Regions from separate parts of the Homo sapiens genome. Here regions 2, 3, 4, 5, 6 and 7 are each linked to region 1. Evidence: promoter capture Hi-C in 16 types of primary human blood cells and fetal thymus (Javierre and others, 2016). All regions are on one chromosome and are shown on one strand. Each heading gives the region's core, a stretch centred on a gene start or on the middle of the fragment in contact. The rest is flanking DNA. Distances are from core to core; before and after follow the strand shown.

Region 1 (3,604 bases), core at 517-3,016:
ACTGAGTCTGGGAGGTTGAAGCTGCAGTGAGCCAAGACTGCACCATTGCCCTACAGCCTGGGTGACAGAGCAAGACCCTGTCTCAAAAACAAAACAAACAATATAATCACAGGAAAAGGGTTTTGTAAAATTTTGCAACATTTTTAACTTCCTCAAGGTTAGGTTTCAGATTTATTATTTTTGTTTTCCAACATTAATTAGATGTAAAAACTCTTAAAACAAAAATGCCTTCAGCTAGCCTTTACAAATCAGATAAGAGGGAAAGGTTGGGAAGAGCAGCCAAGTTGCTTAGGGGCCGTATCCAAGTAGCAGAGTGAAAAGGCTGTACTTCTGAAGCTTCCTGCAATGGAGAGAAGTGTTAGCAGGGGTTGTGAGAAGAGCTCTGGTCGGAATGAAAAGCAGTGGTATACCATCAGCTGCTCGCTCACTTGCTCTCTCATGCACGAATCCAGCGGAGCCTGACGGCACTTTTCAGAGGGCATTTTCTCCAATGAGGCAAAAAGTCAAAGCCTGAGGATCTTGAAATGCTTATGTTAGGCTGGATCTACACTTTTGACCAGTCCTTAAACAACAGGGCTCCTTTGTGTGGTGTCTGATGCCAATCATGTGACCTAGCTAAAGGCAGCAATGTAACCATCCCACAATTCATTTATTTATTCAACAAATATTTATTGAGTTCTCTATTTACCAGGCAGTCAGCTTCCAGGATCTAGGATGGGATACTGTGGTGAGCAAGACAGACAAGGTCCCTGCCCTTAAGGGACTTAAAGACAAAACAAAACAAAAAATAAAACAAGTAAATAAATGAGATCACTTCCATTAATAACAGTGCCATGAAGGGTCATGCGCCATGAAAGGCAGGTGGTGAGGCTGAGGATCTTGGGCCACAATGAGCCGAGGAGCTGAGGTGACTGGGGGCGCCAGGGTCTGGGGGTGCGGGCAGGCAACAGACCACAGGGGACTTACAGGCCATTATAAGGAGTTTTTATGTCATAAATTATTATGACATAAATTGGAGGGCTTTAAATAGGGGAGTGAAGTGGTCTGATTTGTAATTTTAAATGATCGCGTCAGCAGTTGTTTTATGGTATAAAATGCCCAGCTTTAAGATGACCATGCATTCTACAAATTCACCGTGACATCACTGCCAAAACTCTTAACCTGTCTTATCTAGTTTTCCTGACAGATAAATAGGTCGGAATAAAGCTCCATGACATAACTAGTGGGAGCCAAAGATTTGAATCACGTCTTGGTTTCAAATCTTGCTACCCACAAATGAGTTGTGAGCTCTTGTCAGGTTATTTACTGTATTTGTGCCTCAACTATCTCAGCTGTGAAATGGGGATAATGAAAGTTCCTACATCATTTATTTGTGGAAAAAAAAATGACATGTAAAGCACGACGAGAGCGCCTGGCACAATGTAGTAAGCTTTCACAAACACTCACTTTCATTCCTTCTTGCAGGGGATTACTGAGAGGATCCACAAGATAATGCACGTGAAAGGGCTTGCGAAATTGTAAGGACTATCTTAATGGTAGAGTCCTCTTTATGTTTTCTTTTAAACGGTCCAGAGGACGCTGGGCTGTTCGAGGAGAGGCGCGAGGCCAAGCGCAGCCTCAATGCGGTCATTGTCGTGGGGCCGCCCCTCCCCCGCCCGGGGCGCTTCTCCATGGCAACGTGGGCTTTACCTCTCCCCGCCTCCTCAGGCCCGCAGACCGGAAGCAGCCCGCGCCGGGGGCTTCTGGGAAAAGGCTTGTGAACGGCGTTTCTGCGTCTGCCGTGGACAGCGAAGCTGCTGCGGTTCCTGAGCCGGAGGTTTGCGCCGGTGTGCGGGGAACGTTATGAGAGGGAGGGGGGACACCGGGCTAGGGTCTGCGGACCTCTTAGCAGGAGCCGGCGGGGAAGCCTGTCCGGGACCTTCCTCAGCTTCCCGGGAGGCGCGGGGAACAGGCCGCGGTCTCCGCGCCTAGCAGTTGTGGGGCGGGGAGGGGTAGGCGGCAGGCCTGCTTGGGTCTTCGGCATTTGCAGAGAGCTCTCTAACCCCCTGTGTCCTCCGAGACCCTCACCTTCCCCCTCCCCCACCGGCCGGTTTTGTTCTATTTCGAGGCCCTGGCGTCTCGCGGAGGGTTCTGGGAGTCGTGATGGGAGGGGGTGGTAGTGGGACGAGACTTGCGCGGGGCTTCTGGGATTTGTAGTCTCACCGGCCGCAGGCGGAAGTGCCGTGGTTCCGACGCTGTTGTCACAGGGTGGCCTTTGGTCATCTGAAATCCGCGGTCCTGAGTGCTGGGAAGAGGGGCTAGAGGACGTCGGGCCGGGGCCGGGGCCGGGGCCGGGATACACAGCAGGTCTATGCAGCAGTAAGGTGGGCGATCCACCTGGGACGAGGTACCCTGCCCAAACATTGTCGGGACCGTGGGCCTTCCCTCCATTTCCCACAAGCGGTATGCTCTACAGCATAAAAGGAAGAGAAAATTATGTAGAAATACTTGCACCGTTGATAAGCAGGGTCTTGGAATAGGAACGAATGAATGTTGGCTAGACCTTATGTATAAGGCCACCACACTCCAGGGTATTTAATTAAACCAGTATGTATTACTTGTCTGATAAGGCCTTTTCTGATTCTAGTCTTCATCTTGCTTGGGTTACAATAAGTTTTTTTAAGTTGTTATTGTTCAGATTTTGGGCCCTGAATAAATAAATAGGCTGAATGGCTCATTGCTAGTATGTGTCGTAAACAACAGCACGGGCATGATCGTGCAAATAATAAAGGTCCAGAAGCAGTATACAGTTTCACTGAAGGTAGAAGCTGGGGAAACTGTGAGTCCTCCAGTGTAAGGACAAGACACTGGACCACTGCAGGAAGTCAAGGTGCTTATGCGAGTGCCTTTTCTTAATAGAAGTTTCTGTGATTAATGCCTATCATTATAAATATAAATGTACGTATGGTGTGGTGGAAGACTGAATATTTACGTATTATGTGCAAGATAATTTTTCAAAATTATGTGATGTTTTTCACATATGATCTTTTCAATATTATGTGATCTGCTACTCAGCAAGTGAACATTTTTTCACATATAAGTCCAAGGAGTTCTTAAACACCTTAAAAATATTTTTTAAATGGTAAAGAAAATTTTTTTAAGCACATAATAATAAAGCGAACCTTCCTTTTGAGTTGACTTGTGTGTGTCAGGAAACACCAATCCTGAATTGGAAATAATGCGTTCCAGGGTCAGGCACATTTAGAAAGCACTGAAGTAGTCTGGTTCTTACTTGGATTCTTTTGATTATTGACATAGGGTTTGTCGTCTTAGTAGGTCATGATTGGCAAACTTTTTCTGTAAGCGGCCATATAGTAAATAAGGTCATGCATAACTCAACGATAGTGCTATGGTCTGAGAAATATGTTAGGCTATTTCATCCTTGTGTGAACGTCATAGAATGTACTTGCACAAACCTAAATGGCGTAGCCTACTACACACTTAGGCTATCTGGTATAGCCTATTGCGCCTAGGCTACAAACCGGTACGGCATGTTGCTGTACTGAATACTGTAGAGAATTGTAACACAATGCTAACTATTTGTGTATCAAAACATAGAAAAGAT
Region 2 (3,604 bases), core at 390-2,889, 240 kb after region 1:
TTAATGCATTTATAGGAGCCTTTCTCCTATCATGGCTTTTAATAATAACACTCTATATGTGATATACCCCCAGTATAGTTTTACTACCCTACAATGCCCAAAAATCAGAGCATATTTTATTAGAAAGGGAATGGCAGTTTGACTTCTGAAAATATCATTTCTCCCTGATTAAGACCAATAACGTAAACATGGTCAAGGTATCAGGAACATGGTCTCAGGAAATTACTGCCTTCCAGAACATTAAAAATAAAATTTATTATCTGTTGACTTTAATGTGTTTCCTGAGCATTGTCACCCAAGAGGTTAAGCTCTAGAAAATATATATTTCTCTTTCAGGTTCATGGACATTCTATCAAAATGGCACACGTTTATCTGCAGCTTTTGTGAAAGACAGATGAGGGAATTCCTAGAAAACGAGGCCAAGGTAGCATAGTAACAGTGCTATTTGGGTGTGGAGGAATATTGGTACCAATGAGAAAAAAATTAAGGACAGGTTATGATCGTGGAAGAAAATATTCTGAGGTCTGTCCAATCTCACTACAGAAAACTTGAAAAAAATGGCAGTTGAGTTTCGAGTCCAAGCTATCCATCATTCACAGCTTTAGAAAATGACATTAAGATGAGAAATATCAGACACCCTTGATTTTCTTAGCTTTTTGTCCTCCCACCCGACATACCTCCTGAATCCCAGACTTTGGAGAGGGCACAACATCCCCCTTTTCTCCACCCCAGCTCCTAGACTGATGAAAACTGCTGACAAAAGTTGAAGGCCTATCTAAACTGCCATCAATGTTTGTTTCCCAAACTCTTTGTGGCTTAATTTTTACCCAGCCTCTCCTATCGCTTTGGCTCCAAGAAAATAAATATCCTCTCTTTTCCTTTCTAACACTTTATCTATGCCCTTGACATCTCACCTTTTCCTTTCAGCTTTAGCGTCATACTCCAATTTCCCCTCTTTTTCTATTTTCAATGATTCCTTCTCCACAGACATGTCTCCCATCTTACAAACCTGCTTACATTGCCTTATCCTAAAAGCAAACAAGAACAGTTGAAAAAAAATAACATCTTCCTTCCAATCTTATTTCCTGAAGCTACTATCACTCTTTTCCCTACACAAACCAAATGTTTTTATTTTCCTCCATTTTTTTCTGACACATTTGTTAAAGGTTGAATCTACTCTTACTGCCTCCACTTCCACAAGCCCTTGTTAAATTGCTGCAATCTAGGCCTATGCCCTCAGTATTTTAATGGACCAATTCTCTGAGGGACTATTAATCACCTCCTAGGAGTCAGACTTTGGCCTATTTTTCAGGCTTCATCCTATTTGATATCGCCACAATTAATATTTGGCACTGTTGGTGACCCCTCTTTCTACAAATTTCCTACGGTTTTTGTTCTCTGATGCTGAGCTCTTCTGGTTTTCTTCCTGATGTTCATCTTTTTTGCAGCTTCCTCTTCTTCCTCCTCCCCCTTAAATGTATGTATTTCCAAAGATCTGTGCTTAGTTTTCTTTATTCTATATAGGCTCACCCATTATGGCTCCAAAGTTGGATCTTTCCACTGTCTCAATTTCCTTTCTCCAACTTTTTCCTCAAGCCATTCCTGGCTCTACCATTCTACTGAACGGAGAAATCATTCAAGTTGAGAAATCTAATGAACTCTTTCAGGCCTCATTTAACTTGACTTCTCAGCAGATGTAGACATTGTTGACCATTATGCTCCCTACCTTCTGCTTCCCTGACACATCACTTCCTAGTTTCCTTCATTCTTTCTGGCACCTTCTCTGCTTCCTATGCAAGCCCTTCCTCTTCTACTCAACCAGTAAATGTCCAAGTTTCTCAAGACACTCTACCCTTTATCATTCAGTATTTGCTTCCAGCTTCCATTACATCAATATGTGGAAGAATCACAAATGTTTATCTTTAGCCTATAACTCCTTTGAGCTCCAGACACACATGTGCACCACCCCCAACACAAAAATTGCCTATGTAGATCTTCTCTTAAATGTCACAAAAGAATCTCAAACTTAGTATGTTCAAAACAAACTCAAGATTTCTTCCCAAATCTGGTTCTCTTTCAGCACTTCTTGAACAAAACCCCAAATCCTTCCAGTTGTACAAGAAGTCATGTTTAACATCTCCTTCTCTTTTATCCCAGCATTCAGCCATTACCAACATCCAGTCTATTTTGCCTCCTAACAACTCTCCCAGAGTTGTTCATTCCTCTTCATCTACATGAGTACTATTTTAAGGCAGATGAAGAATTCATCTAATTCATACTAGTGAGTATGAGTATTCATGTTATCCTTAAAAATATTTATTTTTAAATATTAAAAAAATTTCAAAAAGTAATGCCAGTTTTCCAATGGTTTCAGTCTGCCTGGAATACAGCCATAAATCCAGAAATAAGATGATAAAAATGCTGTTTAACAGTAAGCAAAACTGTGATTTCAAAGCTCTTACCACCTATGTGGTCCTGTTAACCATTTCTACTTCATTCAGATTGTAGTTTGGGCACAAATAAGAAATTTGTTTTATTTACAAAATTCAGGTTACTGATTTAACAAGTTTGAACACTGGGTTCCACAATTGAGATGGAAACATGATTTTGGATGATTTCATGCTTAATTGTGCAGTACCCAACTGTGTTTCTAATAATGACCCAATTTTATAAGAACACATTCTGCTTGGTAAGGTCTGCTGTTTATGGCAAGGATGTTTATAATATATTTTAGAAAGTGGTTTTTTCTTTTTTTATCCACAGAAGTTTTAAAAGTTTTAATGTTCCAGATATTTTTCCTCAACGACTTCACTTTTGGACAAAGCTGGATAAATAGGGTATTGCTGAATGTTACTGCATAAAAATTGCCACTGCCTACAGAGGAGGTAGGATGTACAGTTCACGAATTTCCTTTGAAGGGTTAGAGACGATGATCCATATTTAACAACAGAGTTCAGTTCATATGCTGGTCTGTACTGCCAGCAATTAAGCAGTAAAAATACTTCAGTCAAAATCTAAACAGGCTACTTGAAATTTCTCGAAAAACTAAAAGGAAAAAGAAATCTATCCTGGGAGCATTATTTTCACTGCCAGCTTCAGTGATACAATGCAAATAGCTCTGCCTTTTTAATAGTTTAAATGAAGATGGTTAGACTAATGACAAATGGGTCACAGGAAGATAAATGTGGTGAAACAGACAACAGTAGAAATCATCCGAAGGCATTAAAATATTGACTGTTGAGAAGAATCAGTCAGAAACACACAGTAAATAACAGAAGGGTCTGAGCCATTATCAAAGATGAAAGCAACTCCCGCAATCTCATTGTGACAATACCTGCTGTGGGGGAGTTTGCATGGTGAGACTTTTTTGGCAGGTTGAAGATCTGTTCACCAGGGTCAGGAGGAGGAATTGCATCTTGCCCTTGTCGTGCCTCTACAGGATCATACTCCTTCCCATCGTAGTTAGCATCATAGAATTTCTTAAACCATTGAATAAAATCCAGGTTGTCCTGGAAACGTCCTTTCACTAGCTTCTCCACTGGAATTACCTGCAATAAAAAATCACTATGTGAGTTACAAACCTCACGTTTGGGTATATACCCAA
Region 3 (3,604 bases), core at 788-3,287, 240 kb before region 1:
TCCCAGCTCCAAATGCTTTTTTACAAAGATACAAAGGCAATTCAACGGAGGAATGACAGCCTTTTCAAGGAATGGTGCTGAAGTAACTGAACATCCATAGACACACGCATAAACACACACACAAACACACACACAATTTTGACCTAAATCTCAGCTTCATAAACTGGATCATGTAAAAACCACAAAACTATTAGGGAAAAAAAGCACAAGGGAAAAATCTTCAGGATCTAGGGCTAGGCAAAGAGTTCCCAGACTTGACACCAAAAAGAATGATCCATAAAAAAATAAACTGAGAAACTGGACTTCAACAAATTTAAAACTTTTGCTCTGCAAAAGACCTTATTAAGGGGATGAAAAGACAAGCTACAGACAAACAACATACCCAACAAAGGACCAGTATTTAGAATATATAAAGAATAAACAAGTCTCAAAAGTTAATAGTAAAAAGGACAAACAATCCCATTAGAAAATGAACAAAAGATAGTTCCCTGAAGAAAATATACAGTTGACAAATAAGCACATGAGAAGTGTTCAACATCATTAGCCTTTAAGGAAATGCACGTTAAAACCACAATGAGACATCCCTATACACCTATCAGAATGGCTAAATGGTGACAGGCCAGGCGTGGTGCCTCATGCCTGTAATCCCGGCACTTTGGGATGTTCCAGCCATGCTAGAACATTTTACAAAACAGCTCACCAGTTTTTTAAAAAACTAAACATGCAACTGCCACACAACCCAGTAAGTGTACTCCTGGGCATATATCCCAGAGAAATAAAGACTCTGTTCACACAAAAACCTATACACAAAAGCTTACAGCAGCTTTATTCACAATAGCCAAAAACTAGAAACAACCAGATGTTCAACAGGTAAATGGTTAAAAGATCCGTAAAAGTACATTCATACTATGGAATATTACTTAGCAATGAAAAGGGAGTAATTACTGATACATGCAACAACCTGGATCAATCTCCAGAGAATTATGCTGAGTGAATAAAGCCAATTCCAAAAGACACTTATCCCATTTATAAAACATTCTTAAAATGGCAAAATTACAGAAATGAACAAATTAGTAATTGTCAGAGTTTAAGGAGGGGGTGGAGGTAGAAGGGTAGTAGGTGTGGCTACAAAAAAACATAAGGAAATCTTGTGGCCATGAAAATTTTCTCTATCTTGACTGTTTCAATGTGACTATTACAGGTCTGGAAATTGTACTATAGCTTTACAAAATGATACCATTGGAAGCAACCAGGTAACTGAGGACTAAATGAGGACACACAGATATAAATGTAAACTGTTATCCCTACCCTTAAACACCATACACTCAAGAGGCATAAATCAACAGTGAATAACTTCATCAAGGAGAAAGACCTTGAGCAAATCTATGAAAAACAGGTAGCACTTCCACAAGTGGAGGTGGAGAAGGGGACATCTTGGGAAGGAGAAGAAATCACATAAAAAGGTACAGAGCCAGAAATAAGCAAAGTGCCTATGAAGAAAGAGGCATGTGTCGGGGGTTGTGAAATAACATAAAAATGGGATAAGAAATGTGGAGGGTAACTCTGAAGGGTCCCCAAAAGTCAGGTGCAGGAGTTTAAATGTTACATACCCAGAGAAGCCGTCCTCCCCAACCCAGCCAACCTGAAGTTCCCCCACCTACAATCTCTCCAGCATCCTTTACTGCTAATGTGTAGCAATAATCACAAATTGTATTTATGTACTTATTTGCATGTTTATTTAATGCTATCCACCCCCAGTTATCTTGAGACTACAGCACTGGGTGTGGCACACATTAATCGCTCCATACAGGGGTCCCCAACCCCCAAGCCATGAACCAGTACCAGTCTGTGGCCTGTTAGAAACCTGGCCACACAGCAGGAGGTGAGCAGTGGGCAAGCGAGCATTACTGCCTGAGCTCCACCTCCTTCCGGTCAGATCACCAGCGGCATTAAATTCTCATAGGGCAAACACTACTGTGAATTTTACATATGAGGGATCTAGGTTGCACAAGACTTATGAGAATCTAATGCCTGATGATCTGAGGTGTAACGGTTTCATCCCGAAACCATTCCCCTGGCCCCCAACCTGGTCCACGGAAAAACTGTCTTCCACAAAACTGGTCCCTGGTGCCAGAGAGACTGGGACTGCTGAGTCAATAAATATTAATTGAATAAATGAACAAACAGTAAGTAGTCACTCCTAACTCTCTTCTACGAAGTTGCCGCACTCCTCTTCCTCCATTATCTGTCACTCCCTTTGCCTTGGTCCCTCTTTGCCTAACTGCCTCTTTTAACTGATCTCTCCTCTTTCCTTCCTCCTCTACCTCAGCCCAGCTCTTAACCCATCAAAAAATAAAACTTGGTATATAACTGCAATGGTATAACACTCTTCTGCATCTCAACCAATTAGGAACTGTATCCAAGAAATCTGTTACTGAAAAAAAAGTACCAAAGTTGTATGTTACATAAGCATGACAGATGTATTACATAAATAAATAAGTAAAAGCAGAAACAGCGTCAACCTGATTGTGACCTTTCATGAGAATGAGTATGGAAAGCTGTCCATCAAAGAAAGCCAGGACAGTATTCCTCAAAACTACCAAAGTTATGGAAAACCAGACAAGACAGAAACTATCACAAACCAAATATTAAAGAAACATGATGTCAAAATACAATGTAGTACACTGGACTGGATTCTGGAACAGAAAGAAGATATTAACGGAAAAACTGGTGAAATCCAAATAATGTCTGGAATTTAGCTACCTAAAAAAATACAAAATTTTTTAAAAACTATATGAAGCACTAATGTGTGATTCAGATTCAAAATTATTATTATATTAGTTAAAAGAGGGATAGGGCATGCAAGTGAGCCAGGAGCAAAACTCCAGTCAGAGTAGCTGGAGCGTCCCACTGAAAGTTACAAACAGATCTATCTTCATTTTGACTCTGGTCCCATGCTCTCTCACCTGATGTCATGAGAATTACCTTGCCTGTAACTGCTTGGGATTAACAATCAGTTTTGTTGTTGTTGGGTTTTCAGTTTTTTGAGACAGGGTCTCGCGCTGTCACTCTGGAATAGCTAGGACTACAGACGCATGCCACCACACCCAGCTAACAACCACGCTTAAGTATCCTAGCACACTCATTCGTTTATCCAACAAGCATTTATACCAAGTGCTTATTGCTTACCAGGCACTGTAAAGTCTTCAGTGATACATGGCTGGAAAAGGAAGCCACAATCTCTGCTCTCATAAAGCTTAAACTCTATTGAGAAAGCCAGGCATTTAACAAGTATTTGCATAAATGGTGAGTGCTCCCAAGAGTTTTGCAGTCTGCTGCTTAAGAGGCACCAAACAAACCAGCAGAGCAGTCATTAAACGCAGTTATCACCAGCACGCTGAACAAAGGCTTCTCAGGTTTCAAAGTGCACACAAATAACTTGAAATCCTGGTAAAGCAGATACTGATTCAGTTGATGTGCAGCGGGGCTTCACATTCTGCATTACTTGAGTCTGAGGTGACAGGGATGCTGCTGGTACACCATCCACACTTGGAATAGCAGGACTCGGAGTACCATGGAAACATCCTCAAAGGATCATGTAAAA
Region 4 (3,604 bases), core at 1-2,500, 200 kb after region 1:
CCAGCACTGTCTTGTCCAGATGGAGTATGCTGGACCTGCAGGAGCTAGGATTCTGTTTGCTTGCAGGTGGAATGTTTCCCAAGGGAATGTTTTCTCTTTATGTCTTTTTTTTTTTTTTTTTGGTAAAGTTTTTAAAAGGTATTATAGCTGCTACATTTGATATCAAATACGAGTCTGTAACTCTTGTTAACAACATTGGCCATCAATAAAAACAAAGACAACCCCCGCCCCGGGGAAATCATAATAAAATGTGGGTAGATGTGTAAATCCACACAAATCTATTCCTATTCACATGCTGACTGAAAAGGGAAGCTTCAGCATAAAAATTTAAGAATCTGTAACTCCAGGCAGATTTTAACATATACTTTTTTTTTTATTAAATATGTAAAAAGATCAATGCAAGTCAAGTTATTCACATATTCAGAGACAAAAAACTATTCTACCATGCGACAATAGGTGGGTAATGTAAAATGAATGTGATACATCTGAATAAGACTTTTTCATCTATTATGTCATTACTTATCTATATTTATAATTAACAATACATATGTTTACATTCCTTTCAGTTTACATTTAATATATAACAAAAGCTTTATGGTGTCCTATTTAGTAAAAGTAATCTGAATGCATATTAAACCTTAACGGAATAATGGAAATACTCACCAGGGAAGGGAAGAGTTCTTGGTTCCCTTCTGGAATTTACTTCTCTCAGGTCAACAGGTGTTTTTCTTTCTTTTTTTTTTTTTTTTTTCCTGCTTTTCTGCTTAGAACAAATATGGGCTTTCTCTTTGCCCCCTGCTTCGATCACTTCCTATCTGACAGTAGCAGTGGAAGTGCTATAACCAGCCGACAGCGGGCACGAGGGGGGGTACTAAGGATGAAACTGGGCTTCCTGAGAGGGAGAAGTGGAGCACGCAATCAGGGACGCTTCCTGCCCAGCCCGATGACATGTGACCAGGGGCCGCTAAGGAAACTGTTCCCTGAATGCCGAGATGAGAGAATAATGGGGTCCCACCATCCATGGGAAATGAGGGGGGATCTGCAGAGGCTGGAGGTGCAGCCTAAGAGGACTGACTCAAATTCAGCTGTTAAAGATTCCCCAAAGCATCTGAGACACCATCTGGGGTGCAGCACAACAGAAGACGTTTAAGATGGGACCAGAAAGAAGAATGTATAGCTCTTCTCTAAATAAACGAATGGTCTGCCCCAAGCCTTCAGGAAGGAGAATGGTCTATGGTGACTGGGGAAAGTTCTCTTTGCAGGCTAAGAGATCTGGCCAGCATGTTTATAACTGAGAAGGCTGGGGAGCTGGAGGGCAATGGAGTGGTTCCTGCAAGAGTCACCAGGGAGGCTTATGCAAGTTATACAGCAGTAAGGGGTTGCTGGAGAAGGCAGGATCCTGACTCCCTGCTACCCACTCACGTGCATCCACATGACAGGAGTTTGGTCATGATCCACTGAGCATTGGGTATGACTGAGATGTCCAGAGCAGATGAAGAATGGCCTAGGAACCACTGCAGTATCAGGTGCATAGAGTTATTGTGACCTTTTACAAGAGCTATTTTTTGTTTTTAAAGAGATCAGTGAGTACAACAGGCTCAGAAGGGCAACACGCTGTTAAGCATGATGCTGGGTATAGCACAGCCACTACTACTTGTGACCAGGTGTGGGAGGACGTCACTGCCGAGAGCCAGGCTGTCCAGCCTTAGAGAAATAAGCTGCTGCTATAATGCAGAGTGAGCAGGAGAGAGAAGAAAGGGAAACCAAACACCACGGAACATCTGTCTAATTCTGCACAGTGTGTTGTAATAATCTGAAAAATACAAGCCATCTTTTCCACATAACTCAATAAATATCACTTTGCTGCAAAAGATTTATTTTGGAGAGACTTCTTTTGGTGAAAAGCTTCAATGCTAGAATTTAGAATTCATATTTCATCGATTAATAAAGAAATTTCAAAGCTTCAGGATACATAATTCAGAAATTTATTTTAAGCTTTTCAGTTAAGCGGAAAGTGGGGTGGGCACATTTGTTTCTTGTTTTTGTTGCACCTGCTAAGTCAAATAACAAGTGAAAGTAAACCTAAAGTTAGAAACCAAGGTGAAATGAATGATCCAGGAAGGGATACCATCTGTCAAAGGAAAAAATAAAAATAAAGAAAAAAAAGAGGCAAAGACTTGGAAAGAGACTAAGAAAATGTACAAATATTAGTTAAAAAATAAGGAATGCTTTTAATTCATTAATGTTTCCTCTATTTATGAATTGCCATGGTTTAGCTAAGGTCAATGACAAGGAGGGCCCTTGTGTTAAAGAGGGAAAATTCTTTATTCTAGAAGATATTGGGAGTCATAGATTTTTCTGTGCTGTTATTCCAGTGTCTACACCAGACTGCAGAACCATGATTCTCCCTCGCAATTATGCTCCTATTAATAAGGTCTTCACTTCTAGCCTTACAGCAAGTGTGTGGCATGGTGCAGAGCCTTGGAGCTCAGGGCTGCACACCTGAAGTTACCCTTTAGTAGGGGTCCCCTAGAGTGAATGACAGTTTTGTGGCTGAAACCTACACAAAGAGGAAGAGGAATGAGGCAGGAAGACCCGTACCTAACCATACCCTCTTTGGACTGCAGAAAACTGATGGCAACATCTCGGGGAGTGGCTGCCCACCAAAGAGGACCCTGAGAAAGAAAAGAGCATAACCTGGGAAATGGGCTACATGGGGGCAAGGGACATGGTGAGCGGGCAAAGTTGAGATGGTGTTTTCCTTGAGTGAATGTCTTTCAAAACTAACAACATACTGTGTAGTTGTCTAACATGCTGATGGAGGAACACTGCTGGGCCCTGAAATCCTAGCTTTGAATCCATTTTTTCCCTTTAGTATTGTGAGTAGAGGGAGAAAATGACCTTATGTTTTCCCCCACGACACAAGTCACCGTCATTATGGCTTTCATATCAAGTATCTGTTTCCCTTTGTTCCAATTATTTGACCAAATTTATGTTCAGAGGTTAGACTTGCAAACATCAAAGCACCACAAATGTGTGTGACATCTAGTGACACTGGGTTGAAAAATGCCAATATAAATACCATATATCAAATTACCATTGTTTCACACCAGGATAAAAAGAGGGGTGGTGGCAGTGGTGTTGGGGTGGGAAAGAGTTGTTCTGGAAAGAAATGAAGAAAAGAGCAGAACCAATCTCAAGCAGCCAAGTGGTGAAGTTGGATGTATGTGACCCTACGATCTCTCGGGTAGGTGGCCAGAGGGCCGTCCGCTAATACACCTTGGCAAAGAAAATGGGAACCAAGCGCAGTGGCTGGCATATGCAACAGTGCGTTGATGGTAACGGCAGATTGGGAACAACTGGTTTCTGTTGAGCTTGGGGCCACACATGTTCCAATTCTCCAGAAGAAACGTTCCCACACACAATGGAAGTGTCAAGAGCAGCCGGGGTGGGTCAGTACTCTTCCTGCTGCGGGGGCTGCTGTTCGTGGGCTTGCTCCTCTGCTTCCGGCTCTTCTGTGTGGCCCTCCTGTGGGCAGGGGAGAAGTTTCAGCTGAGATAATTGACTGGGAATGGGGCCCTGCAGCATCCCAGCCCATTGCCAC
Region 5 (3,604 bases), core at 451-2,950, 180 kb after region 1:
GGAGGAAGCTCGGTACTGTTGGAGAATGCCTGTAGTTAGAATTGTTCCATGTCCAAACCACTCCACCCAACAAGGAAGTGGCTTGAAGTTCCAAACAGATTCCTGGAGCTGGAGATGCATTTAGGGGAAGAGCAGGGCTGGCTTGGCCCGTGAGCTGCACAGCACAGAGCCATGGATGATTAAATGACAGAATCGAGGCCAAAGCTTGAGTAAGGTGCCAGACCAGATGAGAAGCATGCCAGTGGAGGGAGAGAAAAACTGGGCTTGAAACGAGGGCACTGTATCTGAGGACACTGGGCTGAGAGAGGGCATATACAAGGGCAGGTCGGAGGCAGAACTCTAAAGGGCCCTGGGCAGCATTGGACAACCTGGCTAATTACAGAGCTATATGCAACCCACTCACTCACTTTGCAGTGAAAATGTCTTAAGTCAAAAGCACTGTGCAAAAGATCGAATCCCTGGAGACCCCAGCTGGGCTTGCAGGTCTCGTTGTTCTGGCTTCGGGAGAGTGGGCTCCAGGGAGTGCCTTGGTTATCCTGAGAGAAGTGGGAATATTGGACTCTGCCCTACTCTGCCTTCTCTCGTCATCCAAATAATAGCAAACCTCATAGCAGGAGTCCAGAATAGTCATGGTTAAAGGCAAATGCTGGAGAAAAGGTAGGAAACTTTGGTCCTTTACAACTGACTTGAAGCTTTATAACCTGGCAGTTGAAGATGCGGTGATTTCATATCCCCTGTTATCTGCTTTTACTATTTGGCCTGTAATATAAATATAATGCATTTGATGCAAGTTATTCTTTAATTTTAGGTGTGGTCCTTTAAATATTAGAAGTTAGCAGTGAAGGGAACAGGGGTATCTTGGTGGAGTAAGTCACTAGATGGTGTTGGTTTCTAGTTTCATTCCAATACGTGCTGGTCTGGTCATTTTAATTTGTAATACAAAGAAGCTATTGAAGTAGAAGAATATTTTCTTGTTCTCATATTAGAGCCAAATGAGCAAAACATTAAAGAATCATAGTTGAAATTGTTTCCAAATCAGAAAAAATTCTCTATAATTTTCTCATTCTGGTTCCTATTTATATTTTCTGTGGAGACTGAGTTGTGGTTGTCATAGCAATTTATTTTCCTACATGAAATTCTGATACTTGGATTTTTATTATTTGTACTTCATGTCAAGAAAAGACCTATTCAAATCTGAATGTTGCCTTTTAAATGATATCTGACTAGAGTAGATCTTTTAACCATTACATCATCATCCTAATATTTGCTGACTGGTGAATAATAGGATTCCTTAGGATTCTGTTTTGATGGACCAGGAAGTAGTCTTATGAGCAGGGTGTTTTTAAGAGAAGAGTCTGTGTCCTGGTACCCACAAGATACCTTGGTACCCTCCCTTTGCCTTCAGCACCTTCAGTGGCTCTGAGGTCCTTGGGGATTGCCTTCATGTCCGTATACAGTCTTGGTTTAAACCAAAAATCTTTCTTTCCTGGGTTTTGTATCCCTTTTATTTTTTTCCTTTTGCTTTTAGATGGTTTTATTTTTAAAAAGTTTTAAAACTTACAGACAAGATCTCATGCTGTTGTCCAGGCTGGAGTGCAGTGATGCCATCATAGCTCACTGTGGCCTGGATCTCCTGGGCTCAAGCAATCCTCCTGCCTCGGCCTCCCAAAGTGCTAGGATTACAGAGTTGAGCCACCGTGCTGGGCTCTGCTTTTAGACTTTTCCCCATGCAGTTTTCATGTGCTGTTTTGACCTCATTACTTTACTAAAAATTCTCTTTTGAAGCTGACAATGACCCAATTCTTGTCAAATCCATTAGCTTATCGGAATTTACCATTCGCGTCTTTCATGTGACTTTGATATTGTTGACTAATCTTCCTTGAAGCTGTCCCCTCTGGTTTCCATCTTTCTCTCTTTTGTCCTTCCTTCTGTCTATCAGCTATGTCATGCCAAGGTACTTTTTTCAGGGCCCTGCATAGCTGGTCGCTCAGTGAGTCTTTCCCAACATCTAGGTTCTTATTTATCTCCTGCTCCAAAATGTGCCAGTTCCCACAGCTTCTGCCTTGGACAGCTCCATGTTTTGCATTCATTACTCCGTAGGATTATTCACTGCTGGGGTGCTACTTGTCATTACAGAGGACTAACCTTTAAATCCACATCACTGGTTCTGACCACTCACCTCCACTGCAGTTCTGTATCTTGATATCGGCAGGACATCTCCACCTTTAGTACCTGCCATCCAGCACTGGGTTCATTGACTTCACCAATCTCAACGTGGCTGCTCTTGACTGCTAGAAGCACTACTTTTCTGCCAGTTGGACTGTTAGACAGTTGGACTGTGATATCTGCTTCTGCATACTATTTGCTGTGATATCACACCTCACGTAACCTTGGAAAAGATCCACTGTACACTGGTGAAAGAATAAGAATGAAAAAGGCAAATAACATCTCAGGCTCATTGGGAAAATAATTTTGACTTGGAAGATTTCCTAATAAGCTCTTGGGGACTCCCCAAGGGTCTCAGAATCACATTTGAAATCATTGATGTACAGTGTTGCTAAATCTTTTTCTAACTTGACATTTTATTTTTCTTGTACACGGCTTTTCAATTTTGGTTTTGAGGTTTATATAAGGAAAGTTCAAAATCAAACACAAGCATGCAGTCAGAATATAATATTCATTGATGGAATTCAGTCTCTGAAGCTTGAAAACACATCATATGTTAAATGACAGATTTTTAAAAGTCATGATGTTAAACTTCCATGCTCATGAGAGTCAAGTTACGCTTCATGGCTCTCTGCAATTCTGCATTTTCATCTCTCTTGTTCTGACCACCTGGATTGTAAATTTTCTCTGATGTAAAATTAAATTTTTGTTCTCTGTGTTAATGGAGAGAAAAATGAATATACAGGAAATAACTCTGATGTTAAACTTCACCACTGCACCTTTTCCCTTCTCTCTTTTATTTTTATTTGGTAAACCAAGTTCTGTTATGTGCTCAAAACTGCTAGGTGCTGGGGACATTAAATTCGTGGACAAAATGGTCCCACCCCTAAAATCATGCCCTAGGGTGAACACAGTCTTCAGCACCAGCAATCACAACATAATGTGTTAAAAGAGAAGATCTAACCCCTTCAGAAGAAATGTGTAGTGACCTGAGGCAAGGTACTTCTGACTTCTAAAACAATAGTAGGTGACTGATGATCTCCAATCCACTTCTGTCAAAAGAGACCATGTGTAGATCCAAAAAGCACTGTAGATCCAGTGCCTAGTGTTGCGCAGAAAGCTTACCACCTAGCAGTTAGCCATGAAAGTCTTTATTCTTCTGGGGACTCAACATACATTAGAAAGTTGAATATATGGCAGGCGGATGAACTGTGGGAAGGGGAGGCAGGAATTTAGAGCTAGAAGTGCTAATGGTTGTGCTGGGGGCCTAATAAGGAGCAGTAGAATAGGGGCTATCTCTGGGTGGCTGTCTCTGGAGAACAGAGAGAGTATCTCTCTTGCACATCACACTTTAGTTTGGGTATGGACTGAGAGAAATTATACCAATACCACCATCACCACCACTAATTGCAGTAGGCAACAATGTACAACTATGTGC
Region 6 (3,604 bases), core at 458-2,957, 160 kb after region 1:
CACTGTAATGAGGGTGAAGTATTGCCATCATTTATTGATTTTTTTTTGGTTAGGAAGTATCTCAGAGCTCACAGAAAAATATATACGAGAACAACTGCTTACCCACCCTTTATCTGTGTCAAATCTTATTTTGCCATATTAATTTCAGATCTCTTTCTTTTTGTTGAGGATTAACATATCACGTTAATTACTGAACTGCTCTGATTTAGAATTTCTTCAACTCTGAAATGGGTGTAGTCATACCTATATTCCAGAGTCATGAGAATTAAACAGTATGCCATATCTAAAGTATCTGCATATGGTAAGTGCTGAAAAACAGTAGTTTCTTCCTTTCTTATGTAAGGAATCCTGAAAACATCATTTTAGTGGCATTTTAGACCTCATATGAATTTTTTAAAAAGATAGAGAACATAATTTTCCTGACTGTAGGCAGCCCCTAACCTTGACTTTGTTATTATAAAAATAGAGGTGATTTTCCTAGCACTGACTTAGGAACATACATCAAAATTTAATATTCCCTGAAACCAAATTCTAAAAAAAATCTTAAAATTTGACAAACATTTGAATTTTCAGGAACCAACTAGTTCCTCATAAATGCATTTTGAAACTAATATTTTCTAGTCACTTGAATATTTGACTGTAAAAAATGAAAAAGGTACTTTTGCTGGCACATGAGCACATAAGAGTTGAAACACAAAGTGAGTTTTCCAGATGCTAAGATGAGAAGTGTTTTCTTTGGTAGCTGATTCTGCAGCAGTAGCAGCTGCCCTAAAATAAGCTGTTGTTCAGGCCAACGAGGAAAGTAAGTCTCAGATGGGGAAAGGGTAGCACACTGGGAGGCATGACTGCTAGAGAACCTAGGGGAATAGCTGCTGAGACAATGCCATGGCCATCTGAACCTTGCTGAGCAGCACAGGCTCAGCATTCATTCATATTTATTAAGTACCTACTAAGTGCCAGGCATAATTCATGCCCTTGGGATACAGAAGTAAAACAACAAAAAAATCCCTTTTGTCATGGAGCTTACATTCAAGGAGTGGTGTTGAGAACAAAGAGATCACAAAAGAAAGAAGGTAATTTATGATATGTTAGAAGGCAGTAAGTGCTATGGAGAAAAAGGAAGAAGGGTCGGGGGTTAGGAAGTGCTAGGTGGTGGCATGGTTTACAAGAACTGTGGATTAATTTGCTTGTTCATTCATTGGCCAACAAATATTTGTTGAGCAAACATTTCATTTGGTCAGTGTAGTAACACATGGTCCAGGATCGGAAGATACTTCCGGTCCAGTGGGGAAGTCGGAAGTATGGCAGGGTATGATCAAGGTATGGCAGGTTATGATCAAGGTATGCCATGGGAAGACAGGAGAGAGGGCAGAGCAACTCTTTCAGGGTCAGGGAAGGGTGTCTTGGAAGAGGAGACCATGTTGAGTGATGATAAAGAACAGGACTGCAAGTTGGGAATGAGTGAGGCAAGAAGTCATGATCAAGGCCTGGCTTCTGCTTGGCCAGCTGGTTGGGGACGATTCTGTTGCTCGGAGTCAGTGTCAGGGAATGCAGAGGAGCACACTGGTTTGGGGGATGACGATGAGCTCTATTGGATGCCTGTGGGTGTCTAGAAGCAGTCAGATAGATGGGCTCACGGCAGAGAAGTCTGGCCCGGAGAAGCCTCATGGCACGGTGGGAGATGCCCAGGCATGTTACCCAGAGTGTACTGGGTCTTAGGCAGCCCCGTTTCCAAGCGGAATGATCTTAGAAGCAAAGAGCAGAAAGAGCCTCACAGGCTGCCTGCTGCTCTCTTTCACATGGGATAGCTACAGACCTTCCTATCCCTACTACTTGTTCCCTTCCTGAGGGCTTATACCCCAGGCTTTAGGATTCATTTTGGGGGAAATTAAGGAGCCCTTATTTAAGAGTTCAGGCAGATTGGCCTTGTTGCCACTCATACTCAGGACCTCAGCACTGAATCAGGTCACTGATGGTCTGTCTTGGTTATAGAATTTAGACCAACACAACATCTAATAACTGGGCCTTTATTACCTTGAGTTCTAAATCCTGGCCTGACAACCTGCCCTAAACTCTTACTCCTTTGAGACTGGTTTTCCATTCTGACCTTGATAGTTCAGTTCCATTTGTTCATGAGCACCTGCTGAGTCCCAGGCAATGAAGGTAACGTGACAGGTGCTGAGATTCAAAAATGAATAAAATACATTCCCTGCCTATATGCAGCATATTTGTTTAGCAGGAGAGTTGGTCATATAAGCATGCAATGATAGTTCTGTATGATTTGATTCAATAATAGCAGAAAGTTCAGGGTCCAGAGGAAGCACAGTTCTGCCCAGGGACAGGGGTACCAAAACCCAATTGTGGCCTCAAAGCCATCTGCTATCTGCTGCAAGATGTCACTGCTGGTGGCTGCTGACAGGCCTACCACTCTTCTCCACTCTGCTTTCATGGGATTGACCCATCAGTGGTTTTAAGCATCTTACTGGAGTTTAGATACAGCGTTTTGCCAGTTGCCTTCACTACCTTTCTCTGCTAAATACTTGAACTGTGCAATCTGTCTCCTTGCGTCTCTCTGTTCTTCTGTCCCACTTCAACTTCATCTGTAACACACCAGTTTTCTAGTCCCTATTCTGAACATGGAAAATTAACATCCATAAATGTTGAAAGTCTTGAATCTGTATCAGAATTTGAATCTAGTTTCCCAGAGTCTTGGTGCAGTGCTCCTTTTATTAACGCTCCTGATACGGCCATGTATTTGAAAGGAATGGTGAGGAATCTGCATTTTTGATAAGCACAGTATGGTGGTTTAAAAAACTGTCTGCAAATTCTTTGACTTAAAAGACTAGGTTAAAAGAGGTGACACAGCTTCTGACTGACTCTCTCTTGGGATGAGTCACCATGTTGTAAGGATGCCCAGGCCACATGGAGAGGCTTGGTGTTGTGGGTCTAGCCCCAGCTGAGGTCTCAGCTGACAGCCAGTTTCATCCATCAGAACTGAATCAGTGAACCTTCAGATAGTGCCAGCTCCCAGTCTAAATTGCTCTGAGTGAAGCAGAGATGAGCTGTTCCTGCTGAGTTCTGCCCAAACTGCATTTAAGACGCCAAGTTTTAGAGTGGGCTTTGATGCAGCAGTAGATAATCAGAATACATAATAAACAAATTTATTGAATGTGCTAAAAGTTGTTTATAAAATATTTGAAATCTTGATTTTTTTTTATAAGGAAGGCAAAGAAAGATAGCAAATCTCTTCCTCCTTGAACTAGAATCAACTAGTTGATTGTCTCTGAATCTGACCCATTAATAACAATCTTTTGAAGAACTTTAAATCCTTCCTAGCTTTTGTACAGGGCCCACTTATTTATTTGCAGTCAGTCATGCCTTTCTGTAAAAGGAATATAATATCACTAAATTTGACAGAAAAATTCAGTTTAGTTTTTTATGTTTTAATTAAAAAATGATCTATTGAGTTACAATTGACATATAATAAACTTCATGTTTACAGTATGTGCAGATAGTGCTGGGTAGGTTTTGGTGTTATGTATACACTGATGAAACCATCAACACAAGATAATGAGCATATCCATCATCCCTCAAAGTTTCCTTG
Region 7 (3,604 bases), core at 368-2,867, 160 kb before region 1:
TCAAGGAGTCCCATATCAACTGGAACAGCCATTTTTCATACAGTGAGCATGACTAGCACACTTCACACAAGGTGTCAAGAGAAGAGCAGTGTGTCTTCCATGCAATAGCAGCATGATCCCAAATATCTACTGTGTTTGCTGAGATCTTTGAGAGACAGTAAATTCGGCACTCTGTGTCTCAAGTCATACATAGTAGCTTAGCAGGCACATTATTCATTCTTAATCATTGTCTTAACTGGGATCAAGACTCTGGCTGAGGCTGCTTAACTGGTACACCGCAGTCAGGGCATCAATATCCCAGAGAAAGCCCCAGCAGCCTTTGCCAAAGGAAGTGTGGCATTGGTGAGGGAAACAGGAGCTGCAAGTACCAGGAAGGAAGCTGAAGAGGAAGTGCAAGAGAGGGCGCACACTACGGCAGGGGTGAGACACACCCTGCAAGTTTTCAGGAATAACTGAGGAGGGAACTTAGGGCAGCCTTAGGCCCTGTCTCAACACATAAGCTAGCAGAATGTTGAGTCATCAGTATTAATTTATCTTTACCAATGGACAAGGAAACCCATGAGTTACATATGCAGCAAGTATATGGGATCCTGGTATGTGCCAACACTGGTAGTAACTGGCACTACCACGGTGATCATGGGGCAGGTTTCTCAAGCCAATGTCCTCCAGCATTTCTCCCACTCTCCTTGTTGCTGTCATCTGTTGATGCTCTGCCACTCAATCCCTGATGACTCTGGCAACTGCCTATAGGAAGCTTAAGTCCAGCTGAGAAGACAAATATAATATCTTTCCTTCCCTACTAGAAATGTATGTACTGGGCTACATAGAAAGATCCTCCCAAAAAAAAAGAAAAAAAGGTAATCAACAGGGATTAAATAACTGAGAGAGACTGATGGGAATGTGGAACCAGACCAGAGGAGAGGGAACACTGAAAATGTAGCATGTCAGCCAAGATAGGAAGGGTGCGTGGAATTTAGTGAGACCAGAGGAGGGTGGGGTCGGGAGAAAAGCAGCTTCCAGGCAGGAGGAGCAGTGTGTCAAGGCCTGAGGGAGGAGGGGCACAGCTGGTTGTTGGAACTAACAAAAGTGAAAACTGAGCAGGAGTGCAGGGACCTGGGACAGAGGCAAGCTGGAGAGATGGCAGGTCTCTAAGGACCTTTGGAACCACCTCGTGGACAATGGGCTTCATTCTAGGGACCACAGGAAGCCACTGAATGGTTTCAAGCAGGCGGTGTGATCTGAAAAATGCACATTTGTATCTTTAAAGAAATCATCTGGAATCGCATGTTGGAACTGGGTTGCACGGACCAAAGGTGGAGGCAGAAAGAGAACGCATAAGGCCACTTTGCAAGTCCAGAGAGAGATGGTGGCTGGAATACGGTTATGGTGTGGAGTGGAGGAAGGGGAGGAGTCAAGGATGACTCCCAAGTTTTGGTCTGAAGAACTGGTGGCTAATCGTGGCATTTGCTGAGACAGGAAACACTGAAGGAGGAATCTGTTTTAGAGGAGCAGAGAGGATGATGAATTCTGTTTTTGCCATGCGGAGTGAAAGATGCGTGTAAGCATCTGAGTTTATACTAGGGAAAGGAATTTTACGTCCAGGTATGCTTTTTTTTTTTTTTTTTTGAGACGGAGTCTTCCTCTGTCGCCCAGGCTCACTGAAACCTCCACCCTCCGAGTTCAAGTGATTCTTGTGCCTCAGTCTCCCAAGTAGCTGGGGCTACAGGCAGGCCCCACCATGCTTGGCTAATTTTTGTATTTTTTTAGTAGAGACGAGGTTTCACCCATGTTGGCCAGGCTGGACTTGAACTCCTGACCTCAAGTGATCCACTCGCCTCGGCTTCCCAAAGTGTTGGGATTACAGACATGAGCCACCATACCTGGCCTTGGGTATGCATCTTTGGAGAAAGAGCCAGATAAAGGATGCAAATCTGAAAGTGGTCTGCATTTAGGTGGTAACTGAATCCGCAAGAAATGGTGCAATGGCTGGGGAGAGTATCAACTGAGAAGAGCAGAGGGCCTTGGACCAAGCACCAAGGAACTCTCAATATGTAAGGATTCTGTGCAAGAGTCTGGTTTCAAACCTGGCTGATCATTAGAATCACTTGGGAAACTTTTAAAATGTGAATCTACAGGAGCATGTGACTATATATTTTGAAAAACCTGTAGTAGCATTAGAGACCATTTGGTAACAGAAGACTGGCCAGGAAAGAGGAAAACAAAAAGATGGTGATGTTTCAGATACCAAGGGAAGAATTTCAGAAAGAAAGGAATCAGACAAGATCAGGCCTGAATTTAGTAACAGGAAACCAGATGGCGGTGCATCCACTTGTCTGACTCCTTAAAAGTAGGGAGTTGGTGTTTGAACTCAATAAGGGATGACAGGAAGCAGCCCAGCAGGTCCCCCTGTGCTCACGTGCACAGCGTGAGGACAGGGAAAGGGAAGGGGAAGGAAGGTGTGTCAGATGGCAGAAAGCTTTTCATTGGAAGTAGCATCTGAACTGAGGCAAAATGGATGGTAATCAGGCAAGGAGCTAAGCATTCCCAGGAGAGGAAATAATAGAAACAAAAATATGACAAGCTAAGAAAACATATACATTCTAGGAAATAGAGTTAGTCCTTGGCTGGAACACAAGGAATTAAGTGTTGGGAACCAAGCAACAGAATGGGGCACAGCCCAGTTGTTGTTGTTGTTGTTGTTGTTGTCGTTTTGAGGCGGAGTCTTGCTCTGTTGCCAGGCTGGAGTGCAGTGGCACGATCTCTGCTCACTGCAATCTCCCGGGTTCAAGCGATTCTCCTGCCTCAGCCTTCTGAGTAGCTGGGATTACAGGCGCATGCCACCATACTCAGCTAATTTTTGTATTTTTAGTAGAGACGAGGTTTCACCGTGTTGGACAGGATGGCCTTTATCTCCTGACCTTGTGATCTGCCCGCCTCAGCCTCTCAAAGTGTTGGGATTACAGGTGTGAGCCACCGCGCCCGGCCCAGAGCCCAGTCATTAAGGACCTTGTATGACAAGCCAAAACGTTCTTACCCTGAAGGTAAAAAAAAAATTTTACCCTGAAGGCAAAAGGGCCCTGAAGAATGTAAGAAAGTAAGTGGTATGATTATATTTGTAATTTAGAAATCCCATTCTGGCAGCCAGTGTGAAGGATGGTCTGGGGTCAGGAATGGATAAGGGAAAGATGGCGGCCGAAACGTCCATCTGGAGGCTGTTGCTGAGATGTAGACATGGGATACAGATTCACCAGGGCAGGAGCCGTGAAGGAGAGAAGCGAGCTGAGGAGGTGAGGAATGGGAGGAGGTGGGGACAGTAGAGTTTGCTTAGGTGACTGGCTTGTTGGAGGTGAGTCCTTGAGTTAAGGAATGAGGAAAAGACTAGCTTTAGATGAGGATAGGGATGGAGATGGGGTGTGGGAAAGAACATTTCAACACTGGTAGGCTTATTCCTTTCTCTAAAGGAAAAAATATGTCAGTAACAATATTGCAAGTTTCCCTAACTGCTCCTTCTCTCTCACCTCTAAGTCATTGTGCAGCCTGTTTATTTCAAATATCAAGACTCATATACATCAACTTCCTGTATTCAAACATAGTAGCTTCCACC

Evidence for each region. The method cuts DNA at HindIII sites, captures the fragments that hold promoters and counts their contacts. A CHiCAGO score of 5 or more calls a contact.
Region 2: a contact is called between a fragment that was not itself captured here and the fragment with the promoter of ZNF24 in region 1, in 1 of 17 cell types (total B cells). The highest score is 5.1, in total B cells.
Region 3: a fragment that was not itself captured here is called in contact with the fragment with the promoter of ZNF24 in region 1 in 3 of 17 cell types (fetal thymus, monocytes and naive CD8 T cells); the score reaches 6.5 in fetal thymus.
Region 4: a fragment that was not itself captured here is called in contact with the fragment with the promoter of ZNF24 in region 1 in 1 of 17 cell types (naive B cells); the score reaches 5.0 in naive B cells.
Region 5: a fragment that was not itself captured here is called in contact with the fragment with the promoter of ZNF24 in region 1 in 2 of 17 cell types (total B cells and naive B cells); the score reaches 7.3 in total B cells.
Region 6: a contact is called between a fragment that was not itself captured here and the fragment with the promoter of ZNF24 in region 1, in 2 of 17 cell types (naive B cells and total B cells). The highest score is 6.6, in naive B cells.
Region 7: a contact is called between a fragment that was not itself captured here and the fragment with the promoter of ZNF24 in region 1, in 2 of 17 cell types (fetal thymus and non-activated CD4 T cells). The highest score is 7.3, in fetal thymus.

The regions. Positions count from the first base shown.
Region 1 is chr18:35,342,582-35,346,185 of GRCh38, reverse strand. ZNF24 (zinc finger protein 24) reads left to right here and starts at 1,766. Exons shown (of 4, transcript NM_006965.4): 1 at 1,766-1,826. LOC124904283 (a long non-coding RNA gene) reads right to left here and starts at 2,132. Exons shown (of 2, transcript XR_007066337.1): 1 at 1,447-2,132. RefSeq lists a silencer at 1,539-1,708 and an enhancer at 2,389-2,448. The HindIII fragment of the contact is 2,541 bases long and covers 1,432-3,604 here.
Region 2 is chr18:35,101,890-35,105,493 of GRCh38, reverse strand. MAPRE2 (microtubule associated protein RP/EB family member 2) reads right to left here. Exons shown (of 7, transcript NM_014268.4): 4 at 3,335-3,548. Among named protein-coding and RNA genes, the nearest start is that of MAPRE2, 62 kb to the right of the region's middle. The HindIII fragment of the contact is 5,583 bases long and covers 1-3,604 here.
Region 3 is chr18:35,583,137-35,586,740 of GRCh38, reverse strand. The region is part of intron 1 of GALNT1 (polypeptide N-acetylgalactosaminyltransferase 1); the gene reads right to left. Among named protein-coding and RNA genes, the nearest start is that of GALNT1, 3.2 kb to the right of the region's middle. The HindIII fragment of the contact is 2,443 bases long and covers 816-3,258 here.
Region 4 is chr18:35,140,219-35,143,822 of GRCh38, reverse strand. It overlaps MAPRE2 (microtubule associated protein RP/EB family member 2), which reads right to left. Exons shown (of 7, transcript NM_014268.4): 7 at 353-3,528. The coding sequence ends at 3,454. Among named protein-coding and RNA genes, the nearest start is that of ZNF397, 99 kb to the left of the region's middle. The HindIII fragment of the contact is 1,315 bases long and covers 593-1,907 here.
Region 5 is chr18:35,160,857-35,164,460 of GRCh38, reverse strand. No RefSeq gene overlaps it. Among named protein-coding and RNA genes, the nearest start is that of ZNF397, 78 kb to the left of the region's middle. The HindIII fragment of the contact is 2,011 bases long and covers 695-2,705 here.
Region 6 is chr18:35,177,781-35,181,384 of GRCh38, reverse strand. No RefSeq gene overlaps it. Among named protein-coding and RNA genes, the nearest start is that of ZNF397, 61 kb to the left of the region's middle. The HindIII fragment of the contact is 4,063 bases long and covers 1-3,604 here.
Region 7 is chr18:35,499,126-35,502,729 of GRCh38, reverse strand. No RefSeq gene overlaps it. Among named protein-coding and RNA genes, the nearest start is that of INO80C, 3.0 kb to the right of the region's middle. The HindIII fragment of the contact is 1,722 bases long and covers 757-2,478 here.